Linked DNA regions of Homo sapiens: regions 2 and 3 are each linked to region 1. The links are contacts of gene promoters, found by promoter capture Hi-C in human tissues and cell types (Jung and others, 2019). All regions are on one chromosome and are shown on one strand. The core of a region is centred on a gene start or on the middle of the fragment in contact, and the rest is flanking DNA. Distances in the headings are between cores, read along the strand shown.

Region 1 (4,932 bases), core at 1,101-3,600:
TAGCGTCAGGAGCTGCGCTTCTCTCCCAGAGCTTCTGTTTCCACCGCCAGAAAATGGGTATGTTCATTTCTCCAGTAAAGTGTTTAGTTCTATAAGGGATTCGATCAACTTAACAGCTACCAGTCTACCTGCCTCACAGAATCAACGTGACTCAACAGCGACATTTCGAAGTATCACTGAAGACTGCAAAAACCCCTGAAAGTTTAAGATAGAAATGGATGCAAATGTACCCTATGAGGAAGTGTTGTGCGAGTGGACGATGATGTCACCCGTCTACTCTCAGCTCCTTTTTCAAATTCGGTGAGGCGTTTGTGGACGAGCACACCATGCAAAGCGGAGCAGAGGACCCCATGTGTGTCCTACGACACTTATTTTAACATGTTATTTTCAACAAGCAATTAATATTCCGGGGCAAAACATACCGCAAGCTTTATGAAACTGACCAGATGGGAAAAATCTTTGAGGTGCCATTTTTCCACTGGCTCAGCAAGAATTACATTATCCAGACCCAGGGAAACCTCACCCGGCTCCATTCTAAAAGTCCACTGCTGTTGAGTGAGATGCCCCCGAGTCGTCCGGCCTGGGCTGACCATTCACGGGCTCTGGAAAGAAAGCCTTGGTCTCTCTGCGGAGGAGGAGAGGAACTCGGGCCCCCGCCCCGCCCCAGGGCCTCCAGGAAGCAGCCTGCAAACTCGGCGACCCCTGGGAGCCGTGGTCTGTCCCAGCACTTTGTTTCGGAGGTAGGCGCACTGGCCGCCCACTTCCTGAATTGTTCACTCAATTTTTTTACAACTTTTGCAGACTCTTTGCTGGTGCCAAAAAGTCCTCTGGCTCAGCTAAGAAACGTGAAAACTATTTTTGGCATGCAGAAAAGTCGCTACAGGACTAAATTAGAGTCGGCGCCTGAAACGCAGCCCGCGTTCACAGATCCCGAAAATGTTGAATCCGACTCGCTTCAGAACACAGGAGGCCTGCAGCGAACTCTGGCGGCATCTCGGTACCTGGAGCCGCGGGGCGGAGGGATGGGGATTCCTGCTGTGGAGACCGTGACGCGGGACGGCCCGCAGGACAGGGTGTCAACCCCAACGCAACGCATCCGGTTAAACGTATAGCGCAACTGCGAACACGCTCGCGTGGATTAGAAGCGAAAGAAGAGAAATGCCCGAGGCAGAAACCCGCTCTGAGTCCCGGCTCCATCTAGACCCGGGCTGCCCCGAGACTACCGCGCGGCCCCTCTCGGGAACCCCGGCCGCCCGGCTCGCTCCGGGCGCAGGAAAAGCCCCTGAGAAGCGCGGGGCCCCCAGGACACCCCAGGAGAGGACGCTCCGGGCAGATGCGGGGGCACTGGGAGCGGGGGCGCCGCGGCTGCGGGAACTGAGGCTCCTCTGGGGAGGCTTCCCCGGCGCGGGGGGATGGGGTGGGCACTGCGCTCCAAGGGGCGGGGGAGGGGGAGAGGGCGGAGGCTGGGGGAGGAGAAGGAAGGGGGGGAGGAGGAGGGGAAGGGAGGAGGAGGAGGAAGGGGAGGAGGAGGAGGAAGGGGAGGAGGAGGAGGAAGGGGAGGAGGAAGAGGAGCGGAGGAGGGGAGCGAACAGGACGAGGAACGGGGCGGAGGGGGCTGGGAGGACGGAGGGGGCTGCGCCGCGCTCGGGGAGCGGAGGGGGACCGAGGGGTCCTGAGCGGGGGAAAGGTGAGCGGAGGAGGGGCCGCGAACCAGGGGGAAGCGGGAGGCCGGCGGAGCATGAGAGGGGGCGGCGGGAGGCGAGCGGGGGGAGCCCCGGAGGCTCCAACAACTTCCCAGTCCTGCGGGGATTCCGAGTTCCGAACAAAGGCGGCTACGAAGGCCGCGCGCACAGCGCTCTGTTCCGCCCCTCGGCGTCTCCCGCAGGGCGAACAAAGGCCCAGCGGGTCCCCGCGCCCAGGTCCCCCCACGTCCCCCTTCGGAGGTTCCCTTCTGCGTCCCAAGTCCCCAGGCCCCCCGCGCGCCCGATGCCCCCTCCACCCTCCGCGCCCCCCACCTCCGATCACCCCTGCGCTCCCGGATCTCCACGAAGCCCCGGACCCCGCGCCCCCGGCGTCCCCCGCGGCACTCACAGGATGGAGGTCTGCGGCGCCACGGCGGGCACGGCCTCCAGCAGCAGATGCATGCAGCGCACGGTGGTGCGGAAGCACAGGCAGCGGCTCGGACACCCTGCGCCCGGCTTCTGGGCCACCACGGCCAGCGTCCCCCAGGCGCAGAACAGCACGAGCGCCAACAGGCAGCGGCGCCCGGGGCCCCTGGAGCGCTTGGCCATGGCCGACGGCGCGGACGGACGCTCGGACGCACGGAGCCACCACGGCCGGCTCCCGACTGCGCCCGCCCGGCCGCGGCCCACGTCCCAGCTGTGCGCGGGGGGCGGGGGGCGCCAGCTGTGCACATGCGCGAGGCTCCTCCCGGCCCCTCTGAATCCCCGAGGGCGGGGCGGGGCGAGAACCCGGGGCCCCAGCGTCCGGCCTGAGCGCCCTCATCCCGGTGGGGCGGCCCGCATGGCCAAGGCGAGCGCTCGGGGGCGCGGAGGAGAGCATTGGCACCCCTGATTCTGCGCTCGAGACTCGGGGCTCGGGACCCTGGGGCCTACGCGAAGCTTCTCCACTTCTCTTACCCGTGGTTTCTGCCTGCGCTCACTACGGGTTTTTTAGTTGGCGCCTTAATGTTTGTAACACTTTTAGAGCGCTTGCTCTGATCCGGGCACGATTCCAGGCGCGCAGGCGCGCTCCTCTCTTTCTCCTTCTCCCTACCCGCAACCACGTAGGAAATTATTTAACGTTCCAAAAAAGCCCCTCATTCCTTTTGAGGAAACTGAGGCCCAAGCCCCAAAGCGCACAGCAAGGGAGTCTGCGGGAAGATTAGACCCAGGCGGTCCGGCTCCCCGGGGCCTGTCAGCCACCTGCTCTCTGCCGGCCGCCTGGCTCAGCACAGTTGGGAAAATGAAAGGTCCTGTGTGGAGTCCTTGGCGCGGCGCAATGCAGCCCCCGGGATTCTCGCGGCCTTCAGTGCGTGCCCTCCTGGGACAGACCTAGGAGGAGACCCAGGGAACCCCCCCCCCCCACGTCGGGTGTGTCTAGAGACAGCAGAAGACTTTGGAAAGGAGGGAAGACACTGCGTGAGATACGCACAAAGGTGGCGTTCTCACATAGTTCATACATTCTCTCCAATCATCTCACAAGGACCCAGTCTGAATTTCACAGACAAGGAAGGTGAGGCCAAGTTGCTGAACCCAGGCCACAGGGTGACGGTGCCAGATTCAGAGGCACAGCATGGGCGTGTTCCCGTCGCAAACCCCAAGTCTCAGCTGTGTCCCCGTGCTGGTGTTCTAGCCTGAGCTGCGTTTGAAAGCAGCCTGGAATGGGATTGGTGGGTAATAGGCTAGTTTCCTGTTGCTATGTTAAAACACAAAAGCAACTACCACGAGACATAGCCCGGAGGTCACAGGTGCATTGCTGACCACAGGGCACCATCTAAGGACTGGACCCCCGAGGCTGCTGGCAGGGGGTTCCAGTTCCTTGCCGTGTGGGTCTCCATGGCCTGCACACTGGACATGGCCTGATGCCTCCCAGAGCAGGTATTAGAAGAAAGAGGAAGAGAATGAGAGTACAACACAGAAGCCAGGGTAAAACCTAACCCAGCCTTGGAACTGGCCCCGCATCACACCTGCGGGGTGCATCCTCAGAGGTCGGTGGCTCCCGCTGACATTCCAGATGCCATCTTTCCTGCAGGATTTTATCCACCCTCTACAGCGGATGCAGCTCACACTCCGGATTCCATTTCTCCTGCAGGATCCTATTCACACACTCCGGTGGGCCCAGCTCACACTGCAGACAACATCTCTCCTGCAGGATACTATCCACACACAGAAGTGGGTCCAGCTCACACTGCAGACATCTCTCCTGCAAGATCCTATTCACACATTCCAGTGACTCCAGTTCACACTGTAGATGCCAAAACTTATGCAGGATTCTATGCACACACACTAGTGGTGCATTTCACACTCCGGATGCCGTATCTTCTGCAGAATCCTGTCCACACATTTCAGTGGGTCCAGTTCACGCTCTACATGTGCTCTCTCCTGCGGGCTCCTATCCACACACTCCGGAGGTGCCATTCACACTCTAGATGCCATCTCTCCTGCAGGACGATGTCCACACCCTCCAGTGGGTCCAGTTCACACTCTAGAGGACATCACTTTTGCAGGATCCTCTCTACACATTCCACCGGTGCCATTCACACCACAGATGCTGTCTCTTTGCAGAGTCCTATCCACATGCCCCAGGGCTGCAGCTCACACTGCAGACACCATCACCCCTGCAGTATCCTATCCACACACCTCAGTGGGTCCCATTCACACTCCAGAGGCTATCACTTTTGCAGGATCCTATACACACACTTTAATGGGGCCAGCTCACAGTCCAGAAGCCGTTACTCCAGCATGATTCTAGCTACACACCCCAGTGGCCCAGTTTACACTGCAGATGCCTTGTCTTCTGCAGGATCCTCTCCAGGCACAACAGTGGGTCCAGTTCACACTCCAGTTGCCATCTCTCCTGCAGGACCCTACCCATACACTCAAGTGGGTCCAGTTCACACTCCAAATGCCATCCACCTGCAGCATCCCAACCTCTCACTCAAGTGGGTGCAGTTCACACTCCAGTTGCCATCTCTCCTGCAGGACCCTACCCACACACTACAGTGCTCCACTTCACACAGCAGACATCATCACTGCTGAAGGCTGCTGTCCACACAGTCCTGTGGATGCAGTGCTCACTCCACATGCCATCACTCTTGCAGGATCCTACCCACACACTCGAGGCAGTCCAGATCACACTGCAGATGTCATCACTCCTGCAAGATGCTATCCATACACTCCAGTGGGTTCGGTTCACACTGCAGATGCCATC
Region 2 (4,932 bases), core at 628-3,127, 190 kb before region 1:
GGTTTTGGATCTGAAAGTTTTGTTATTGGGTTTTCATATCGGTAATTAATTTAGGGACATTATCTGATTCATCTGGGTTAGGGACATGACGTTCAGTCTTTGTGATGGTGCAGGTTCCCTCTGGGGCTGCAGTGAGTCTGTCTAAGGCTATACGAGCCTGTAATGCAGCCTTTCTCATAAAAGCATCTTCATTGTTTATTAACATGACACGTGGCTATCATTCAGGGCCTTTTTCAGTTAGGAGGTACACTGTCCTTCCCTTCTGGGCCTTACCTCGTCCTCCTAGAGGACCTTTTATAATTCTGGTCACTTGAGAAGGAAGTTTACATTTGCTTATTGAATTGGCCTTCAGAATCTGGCCAGTTTCAAACATTACAAATTTTGCTCAATCCACATAGCTTCAATTTCTCTTTTCAAAGAGAAACTGTTTTCTTCCTGACCAAAATTTCAAATGGGACAAAAGGTTCTAGAAACTCTAATGAATAATTCAAAACAGAACCTTAACTTCAAAAAAAAATCAAAGTCTTGAATCTGGGGTCAGCAGAATCCCAGAAGAATAACAAACAAAACTCCAAGCTTGCAGTAGGTCTTCCAGCCCTATCGAGTTAGGAATTTGTGTGGCTCAAATAAAAGTCAGAACTTCAACAAGCTGGGAGGTTCGGACCCGAGAAGATCCTTCCCAGAGGTCCGTGTTGACTCCAGCGAGGTCCGGTGAACCCAAGCCATGTGTGCTGACAGCAAGGCTCTGGCTGTTGGTGATGTAATGGGGATCACTGGAGGCCCACTTCACATCCCTTTGTGGTTAGCAAAATGCCAATCGTCAATAATGAAATTTGGAAAAGATGATTCAGTATAGAGTTTATTTGAGTGCAAAGCTTGAGGGTCATCACCTTGGAAACACAGACTCTAGATGAATGGGCTCTGCTTTTAAAGTGAGAAGTTAAAGTTTCATTTTATAAGCAGAGACAGAAGTATGACAGGGCTACAGCCTGTTTCAAGGAGGTCACAGGTTAAATCTATTTCACTGGATTGCTCACAGCTTGCTGCATTCCAAGGAAACTCGCTTTAACTTTCCACAAGGAGGAGTAATCGTCTTGAGGGGCCTCATCTATGGTACCAGTCAGTCCTTTCTAATCATTTACAGGACAAGAATGAGGAAGAGATTTGACCCAGAATCAAAGAAGTTGCAGCTTCACACCTTGTGACTCAAGCCACACGGCCACATTCCTCTCAAGGTGCAAAATGATCTCAACTTACAACAGCTTCACATCTGAATTATTTCATTTCACAGGGACTTTATACCAAGGTTCTCCACGTTGCACAAAGATCACTACACCTTCCAAAACCCTGCTCAGGACGTCTTAGTCATGCATTCACAATGGGAACTGGAAGTAAAAAGCATTGAGACTGTTCCACTGACAATTGTTTTACTTCTTTTTTATCTTCATTAGCAGGCATCAGGCAACTTTAACCAACCTTCTAGGCAGTTGTCAGTGATCATTGTCATATTAAAGTGCATGTTATAGATTATAAATTACTTTCATGTTATTTTTCCTTTATCTTACACTTACTTACAGCATTATGTTGATTTTTAAACTATATGGAAAGGGAAGTTACATGAGCTATAAATTCCCCATTACATGGTCAAGCCGCATTACAAAAGACTTGCTATATTAGAAGAGGGCAGTGGAAAGTCTTGCTTAAAATCTTAGTGTTAAAATTCTCACTAAAATGTAAGTCACTGAGAGTATCTCTCTCTTTGCCTCAGAATAAGCTGTGATGAGAGACATAGAAATAAGAGGGGTAAGTTTGGGGGTTGCACAAACAACGCTTGCTGAAGTTTTACACCCTCCCCTGAGCCCTGGGCATGGAGCTGGGGTCATGCCAGGTGGCTTTCTGGATATCATCACTTCTTCCTCGCAGAAGCCGCATTGTATGTGTATGCATATATATGTATGTGTGATGCGTGTGTGTGGTGTGTGGTGAATGTGTGTGTTCTATGGGTGTGCATGTATGATGTCTGTGTGAAGATTTGGGTTTAGAAGTCACTCCAGGCAGAAGCAGGAGGTCGGAACAATAACCACATTTTGCAGCGATTTCACAGGAAGGTTTCAAACCCACAAGGATTTCTCCTCAGCCCTGAGAGCATGAAATTAAACCGAACATTGCAGCTGAGACGAGGGGGACTCCGTTCTCTTTGCAGCGAGGGAAGGGGCCAGCACTCCAGGAAAGAGCTGCCCATGGACAGCGTCACCCAACAAAGTCTCCCATTCTGTACACAAGAACCTGTCATATCATCCTATACTGAGAGCCGTATACAAAGTCTCCCATTCTGTACGCAAGAACCCCTCACACATCATCCTATACTGAGAGCTGTATACGAAGTCTCCCATTGTGTACACAAAAACCCCTCATATCATCCTATACTGAGAGCTGTATACAAAGTCTCCCATTCTGTACGCAAAAACCCGTCATATCATCCTATACTGAGAGCTGTATACAAAGTCCCCCATTCTGTACACAAAAACCCGTCATATCATCCTATACTGAGAGCTGTATACAAAGTCTCCCATTGTGTACACAAAAACCCCTCATATCATCCTATACTGAGAGCTGTATACAAAGTCCCCCATTCTGTACACAAAAACCCGTCATATCATCCTATACTGAGAGCTGTATACAAAGTCTCCCATTCTGTATGCAAAAACCCGTCATATCATCCTATACTGAGAGCTGTATACAAAGTCTCCCATTCTGTACACAAAAACCCATCATATCATCCTATACTGAGAGCTGTATACAAAGTCTCCCATTGTGTACACAAAAACCCCTCATATCATCCTATACTGAAAGCTGTATACAAAGTCTCCCATTCTGTACACAAAAACCCGTCACATCATCCTATACTGAGAGCCATATACAAAGTCTCCCATTCTGTACACAAAAACCCGTCACATCATCCTATACTGAGAGCCGTATACAAAGTCTCCTATTGTGTATGCAAGAACCCGTCATATCATCCTATACTGAGAGCTGTATACAAAGTCTCCCATTCTGTACGCAAGAACCCGTCATATCATCCTATACTGAGAGCTGTATACAAAGTCTCCCATTGTGTACACAAAAACCCCTCATATCATCCTATACTGAGAGCTGTATACAAAGTCTCCCATTGTGTATGCAAGAACCCGTCATATCATCCTATACTGAGAGCTGTATACAAAGTCTCCCATTGTGTACACAAAAACCCCTCACATCATCCTATACTAAGAACTGTATATTAATTCCCTATTTCTCAGCCTCTGCTGGTGAAGTTTCTGCCTCTTACTTCAGAAGTCCAAGTGGTGAAGAGCCCTTGGCCCACAGGTCTCAGGGTGGTAGGAACGAAAAGGCCGCTCTGAGTCTGCAAACAGAACCTCCCTATTGTCTCTCAGAGCCATCAGGTGCCACCGGCACAGGAGTCTCTACTTACGTGAGACACAGAGGGGAGGCTCCCTCTAACTTCCAACAGGAATGCAAAATGTGCCAGGCCGGGCACGATGGCACACGCCTGTGGTCCCAGCTACTTGGGAATCTGAGGCGGGGGATCTCCTGGACCCAGTGGCTTGAAGCTGCAGTGATCCATGATTGTACCACCACACTCCAGCGTGGACAACAGAGTGAGACCTTACTTCTTAAAAAATATATATTAAACTAAATCTATGAATTACCAGGCTTGTCTAATTTCTAAGTATGAAAAGCAAAACATAAGGAAATTTTGCAGCTCGTTTCATGACTTGTTGCCTTCTTTCCTTCTAACTTGGTGTGTCATCTGAAAGAGGGCAAGGTGGAGGAGTTCTTGCCCCAGGAACATGTCATCAAGCTCTCGGCTGGTGCAGGCGGTCCATGACATTGTGTTCCCAAGTCCTCCCTGCTCAGAGCGTGACCTTGGCTGGTCCCAGTGACTCACATGCTGCTGGTTTCCATGGCAGCCAGACCCATCACTCAGAGCAACGCAGGTTGACTCAGCCCTGGTCTGTCCAAGTCTAAATTTCCTCTCCTGTAAAATGGGAATAACCTGCCTCCAATGGTGAGAATGAGGTGGGGTCGGCCAGGCAGGCAGGGAGCACAGTGAACACTGCCTGCCTTTACGTAACCCGCGAGGCCATCCCCAGTGGGGCCCAAGGCATCACAAAGGCCCCTGCTTGCAGGATGCTCAGAGTTCTCTGCTGTCTCCACAGCTGGCATCCAGCCTCACAGACACCCTCAGCCCAGATGAGGTCCTCAGTGTCCCCATGCTGAGAGTCACAGGCAGATGCCAGCAGGACCCGGCCTGCCTCTTCCTCAGGGGAGGCCTGGACGAGGCTTCTGGGTCAGGACGTGACCCTGGATGGGGCACCAGGCAGCTGCAGTGAGTGGCCAGGACTCAGGCTGTGGGGGCCTCCCTGCCCTGCGTGGGGGTGGGGTGGGGCCAAGGAAGCCCCAGGCCTTCAATTTAGGATTTGCTTCATCAAACGGATCAATTCAGGCTGAAGATAAGCAGCCTCAAAACTCTCTCCCTGGAGAGCCAGTGGAGCTTCCTGTTGGAACTCAGTCCCGTGGGACCCTTCCGGGCAGATGGTGGGGGAGGCTGTGCCCATCCCTGCCACACCTGGCCCCCATCGTGTCCCTCCATGCACCGCAGACATGTTCTCCTGCTGACCTCCACCCTGCAGACGGGCCCGGGTCTCCCCCTGACTGTGTGGGACACAGAGGGGCTCTGCCGACCCCGGGGAAGGAAAGAACGGGAGGAATGTGAAGTGCTCGCAGGACTCAGCACAGCCGCCTGGGCCCAGCCTCTCCTCCTGCAGGCCAGGACAGCTGAGTGAGATCCCCCAAGGCCCCTTCCTGTCTCAAATTTCTTCAATTTTTACAATTAAAGGAAGAGAAGAAGAAAGACGTGCTCTCCTCTCT
Region 3 (4,932 bases), core at 1,633-4,132, 170 kb before region 1:
GCAAGGGGGGAAATAAGGTCCCAAAGGGAGGGTTGGTCAAAAAGGAAAGGGCTGCAGAGGGTGCTGTCCTAAGGCAAGGGTGACCTGTGTGCAGTTCCAGAAGAGTTTTGCTACCCGGTCTGTGCAACTGCCTGACTCTGGCGTGAGATGGGGAGAGCACAGGTGGTGGGGCAGCTGCTGGGAGCAGGTCCCAGGCAGAAGCTGAGGACACGAGAGGGCACAGGAGAGGCTCTTCCTGCCCTGAGGGCTCTGAATGAAAACTCTAGTATATATGTTGGGGGCTGAGGATCTGCCGGAACCCCAACTCTGAGGGGATGCATGCTCCCTATGCATACCTAGAGCCTCCTCCCCAGGGGTCTAGAGCTCAGCTCTGCCTGAAGCTTGAGGCAAGGTGGGGGTTGCTAAGCAGCTGGCCCTGGGGGCATCGCCTCAACCACACCCAGGACGCTTGACCAAGCAGAGGGACTGGTCTCAGGGACTGTGATGGCCGGAGGGATTTTTTTTTTTAATTGTATAATGTCAATAGCTTTAGGGGTACAAGAGGTTTTTGGTTGCACAGATGAAGGTACAGTGGTGAAGTCTAAGATCTTAGTGCACCTGTCACCCAAGTAGTGCACATCATACCCAAGGCATAACTTTCCATCCCTCAACCCCGTCTCCCTCCCCGCCTCTGAGTCTCCAGTGCCCATTATACCACCCTGCATGCCTTTGCATGCCCGTAGCCTTGTGTTCCCACTTATAAGTGAGAACATAAGGCATCTGGGTTTTTTATTCCTGAGTTATTTCACTTAGAATAATGGCCTCCAGCTTCAACCAAGTTGCTGCAGAAGACATCGTTTCATTCTTTTTCATGGCTGAGTAGTATTCCATGGTGTACATGCAGCTCTTTATCCCCTCATCAGTTGATGGGCACTTAGGTAGATGCCATATCTTTGCAATTGTTAGAAGGATTTTTTTAAGCTGTAGCCTGAAGTCTCAAGAGTTTCATGCATTTACAGTGGTGTCTCCCCACGTTCTCTCTGCATTTTCTTCTATGTTATCTCAGCCAGCTCGAACTGCAATAACAAAACACCACAGATGGGCGGCTTAAACAGCAGACATGCATTTCTCTGAGTCTGGAGGTTGGAGGTCCAAGATCCAGGTATGAGGCAATTCTAAGTCTGGTGGGGGCTCCATTCCTGGCTTGACGACAGCGGTGCCTTCTCACTGTGTCCTCACGTGGTGGAGAGAGTGCAGCCCTGCCATCTCCTCCCCTTCTTCTAAGGACACCAGTCCTATTGGATCAAAGCCCCACCCTCATGGCCCCCTTGGACCTGATTTACTTCCTTAGAACCCTTTCCCCAAATGCAGTCATCCTGGGGTTTGGGATGTCAATGTGTGGATTCTGGGGAGACAGTTCGGTTTATAGTGGACAGACATTTTTTCTTAGAAATCTAAGAAAAGAAAACCCTCCCCTGCCTTCCCACTCCCAGGAGAGGAGCCAGCAGGGGTGAGGCCACCCAGCCCCAGCACACGTCCTGCAGAAGCTGGGGTCCCATGGGCTCTCCCTGGAGAGACAGAGAGCTGTCCACACTTGGCAGCCCCAGTCCACACCCTAAGGATGCTGTCTCCACACCTGAGCCGCCCACTGTCCTGCCCCCACCCACCGTGCAAGGTTTCACATGTCCCGACCTCCCCTTTCTGGCTCTCCTCCCAGCGTCCTCTCTTAAACTTGCAATCTGCAGGTCGTAGGGGTGACGAGTTATGAACCAATCTCAGAAGAGAGACAGGCAGGGTCACACTTGGGTGGCAGCAGACCACCACCTGCAGAGACCAGGTGGCAGGTCCTTCTGGGAGGTGTGGGACGCACCACCAGGGGCTTAGGGCATTCCACCTACAAGGTTCTTAGACCCTTATTCATACATGGGGGACGGGCACAGTATTTCTACAGCAATCCACACTTCTGAATTGCCACTGATTTCGCCAATGAAAATTAGTTTCAACATATATTATGTCAATTAACAAACTCAACTGCAGGCAGACCACGATGGCAGAGGCTGATGGGCCTGTGGTGGCCACTGTGGGGTGAGGCTGCCAGGCCTGGGGAAGAGCTCCCTGACAGTACATTGTGTGTGAGCTGACCTTCCCCCAGGTGTGCTTTACAACCAAAGACGTGTGTTGTATGTGTCCGTATGCACACACACGCACACAACATCACAGGGATGGACACAAGGTCACAGATGATAAAACCTGCTTCAATGGGGATGTCAGAGAACAATTAGAAAACCAAAACCGTCCTGCAGCTAGTCATCACGCCAATCTGTAATAGACAATACATGATCGTTATGTTAATTACTTTCAGGGGTTAGTGTCAATGTCTTTCTAACTTTCGGCCTCAATGTAGACATAGCTCAGCTGTGTCTACACAGCTGGGCAAGTCCTCCTAGCACCCTGACTTTGAGCTTTCCCTTAGGGGCTCAGAGCTGTCTTTGCCTCTGAGTCCTTTTTTCTTCTCTCAATCTCCTGTGTGGACTTGAGTCCTGCAAATGATCAAAGCTGGAAGGTCCAGTCTGGAGTCACTGCAGAGTATGTTGCTCATGCTTCCCCGAGAATTATTTCATAATTGCATTTGCAGTGACCAAGAAGGGGAGGAAACAACAGCTCGGACAATTCAAGCTTCAAGAATCTCACCCCTGGGAGAGGAGTCATTCCTCCACCCACACTGGCCCACGCCCCGCCCCAGTGGATTTTCCTGCTGGGAAAACAGACCACTTTGCAAGTTGTTCCTTGGATATTGGAGGTCGGAGGAGGATGGCGAAGACTCTGTACGTAACTAGATGTCCTTAGTTCTTAGACGACCACAGTGACTCAACCGCCCTCTGCCTCCTGAAGGGCAAGGCTAAGAAGTAAAACAAAACAAAGTAAAAAGCATGCGGGGAGTGCCCTGTCCAGAACCCCCCATGAATGTCTACACTATGAGGTAGATTCTCTGCCCAGGAAGGGCCCACGACTTGCTGCCCTTCTCCATGCCAATCTGCACTTTGAGATCACCAAGAGAAATACTGACTATCCCAAGACAGATTCAACTGCCAAAGTGAATGGTGTGGACCGCCAAATAAGGTTAAAGGAGACCTCCCAGCCCTGTGCCAAGGACGGGGCACTTCCTCAGGAAGCTGGTTCCCCTCATCCTCTCAACTTCCACTCTTCTCTCCAGAGCCTGGGTACCTTGAAAGGCATTGATTAAAATAGTTACAGCAGTCTTGCAAGAAAGTATGGTTAAGAAGTGTAGGATGCCTTATCATATAAGTGAAATTAACCAATGTGCTCAAACTAAACACAGGCATTACAAAGACAGTCAATATTAACACAATGGAAATTGCACTTAGGGTCCAGACTTACACATACAGAGCTAGAAATGATGAGTGGTTATCTGTGAACTTAAAATACACAAAAGCATGATATTTGCCCAATAAGTTGGTGCAATTACACATTGCAAAGAAAATATGTTTAAAGGGGTTATAATAAGGAAGCAGAAAAAAGCCCAAGTTTGTTTTTTTGTATTTAGATTCAAAAATATTCAGTGAAACAACAAATATCCTTAGGCAACAACCCTATCCAAGCAGAAGGCAAGCTGTGAGCCCGGCTCAGCGAGAAACACGTTGGAAGCTCCCCCTCCTCAAGACAATGGGGAAGTAAGATGCCAGCATACAAAACATTTTTCAAATTATCAAAACCAGAACATTTCAGATACAATAAAAGGTGGCATAAGTTGGAAAAGGATGATAGAGAATGGGGCAATCATTTTCAGTTGGAATGGAGAAGTTCTGACAGAAAAATGTGATATCTGATCTGACTCTGAAAAGGTGGATAGAGTGGGCAGAGTGTGGAAAGGTACAAACACCAGGAAAGTATTTCTGGGAGCAGAAAGGTGGATTCAAATACCTAGAAGTAAAGAGGAGTCAGGCTTATGGAAGACAGAAAATAAATTCAAACTACCAAGCAGCCAGCCAGGGGAACCACAGATGCAGCCGCCCAGATTGGCAAAGACAGAGGACAAGGCACTTTAGCCCCAACGAAAGTTGGTAGGAAAAAGCAACAAAACAAATACATGAAAAAGCAGGCAGGGGTCAGACCCAGAGCATTCTCCAGGCAGGTGGAGTCCTCTCTTCTGCTAGGTGAAGGGAGAGTGTGGTTGGGGGAGGCCGGACAAGACGGGAGATGATAGCAGGGCAGACAGGCGGTGAAGGGCAGTGGAGGAGGATGAGACAGGGGACCCTCTGTGAAGGGGAATCTGGAATACCCGACACACTGCAGCATGAGGGTGAGTTAGATAAGCGTCAAAATGCATCAGAAATGCCAAGTGTTCACGATCCGCTGGGGTATGTTAGAGCAGGTCTCATGGACAGGAGGAGGAAAGCCGTTGAGTGATATTGGATAAACATGGGTCTTCATCTGTGTGGGCAGTGGTAACAAAGTGCCCTAGACGAGGGCGTCTAGAAACAACAGACATTTATTGTTCACAGTTCTGGAGGCTGGAAGTCCAAGATCAAGGGGCTGCCAGGGTTGCTGAGAGATGAGGGCTCCATTTCCAGTTCACAGATGGTGCTTTCTCACTGTGTCCTCACCAATGGGGCAGGTGAGGGAGCTCTCGGGGTCCCTTCTACAAGGGTACTAACCCCATTTATGAGGGCTTCACCCTCATGACCCCATCACCTCCCAGAGGTCCCAACTTTTCATACTGCTACCTTGAGGGTTAGGTTTCAACATGAATTTGAGGGAGACACCAACATTCAGACCATAGCAATGTGAGAGGCTTTTCTAAGTTAGATACAATACAATTGGAAGGGAATAATATTATAAAAATCAGGCAAAGAAGCTAAGATTCTGGAATAAAAGGATGTCTGAATGTTTCATACACATATCTCCCTAGAAGACTTGAAGGCTTATCCTTCC

The links. The method cuts DNA at HindIII sites, captures the fragments that hold promoters and counts their contacts. A contact is called where the count stands out against the background at its distance.
Region 2: a fragment that was not itself captured here is called in contact with the fragment with the promoter of PXDN in region 1 in 8 of the 25 tissues and cell types used here (H1 embryonic stem cells, IMR-90 fibroblasts, adrenal gland and 5 more).
Region 3: a fragment that was not itself captured here is called in contact with the fragment with the promoter of PXDN in region 1 in 1 of the 25 tissues and cell types used here (mesendoderm cells).

Annotation. Positions count from the first base shown.
Region 1 is chr2:1,742,165-1,747,096 of GRCh38, forward strand. PXDN (peroxidasin) reads right to left here and starts at 2,351. Exons shown (of 23, transcript NM_012293.3): 1 at 2,092-2,351. The coding sequence starts at 2,291. The HindIII fragment of the contact is 6,203 bases long and covers 1,525-4,932 here.
Region 2 is chr2:1,553,026-1,557,957 of GRCh38, forward strand. All of the region lies in intron 4 of LALTOP (lung cancer associated lncRNA targeting TOP2A), which reads right to left. It overlaps LOC102723730 (a long non-coding RNA gene), which reads left to right. Exons shown (of 3, transcript NR_168373.1): 3 at 1,145-1,530. Among named protein-coding and RNA genes, the nearest start is that of LALTOP, 70 kb to the right of the region's middle. The HindIII fragment of the contact is 7,991 bases long and covers 1-4,932 here.
Region 3 is chr2:1,570,120-1,575,051 of GRCh38, forward strand. The region is part of intron 4 of LALTOP (lung cancer associated lncRNA targeting TOP2A); the gene reads right to left. Among named protein-coding and RNA genes, the nearest start is that of LALTOP, 53 kb to the right of the region's middle. RefSeq lists an enhancer at 2,055-2,556. The HindIII fragment of the contact is 6,127 bases long and covers 1-4,932 here.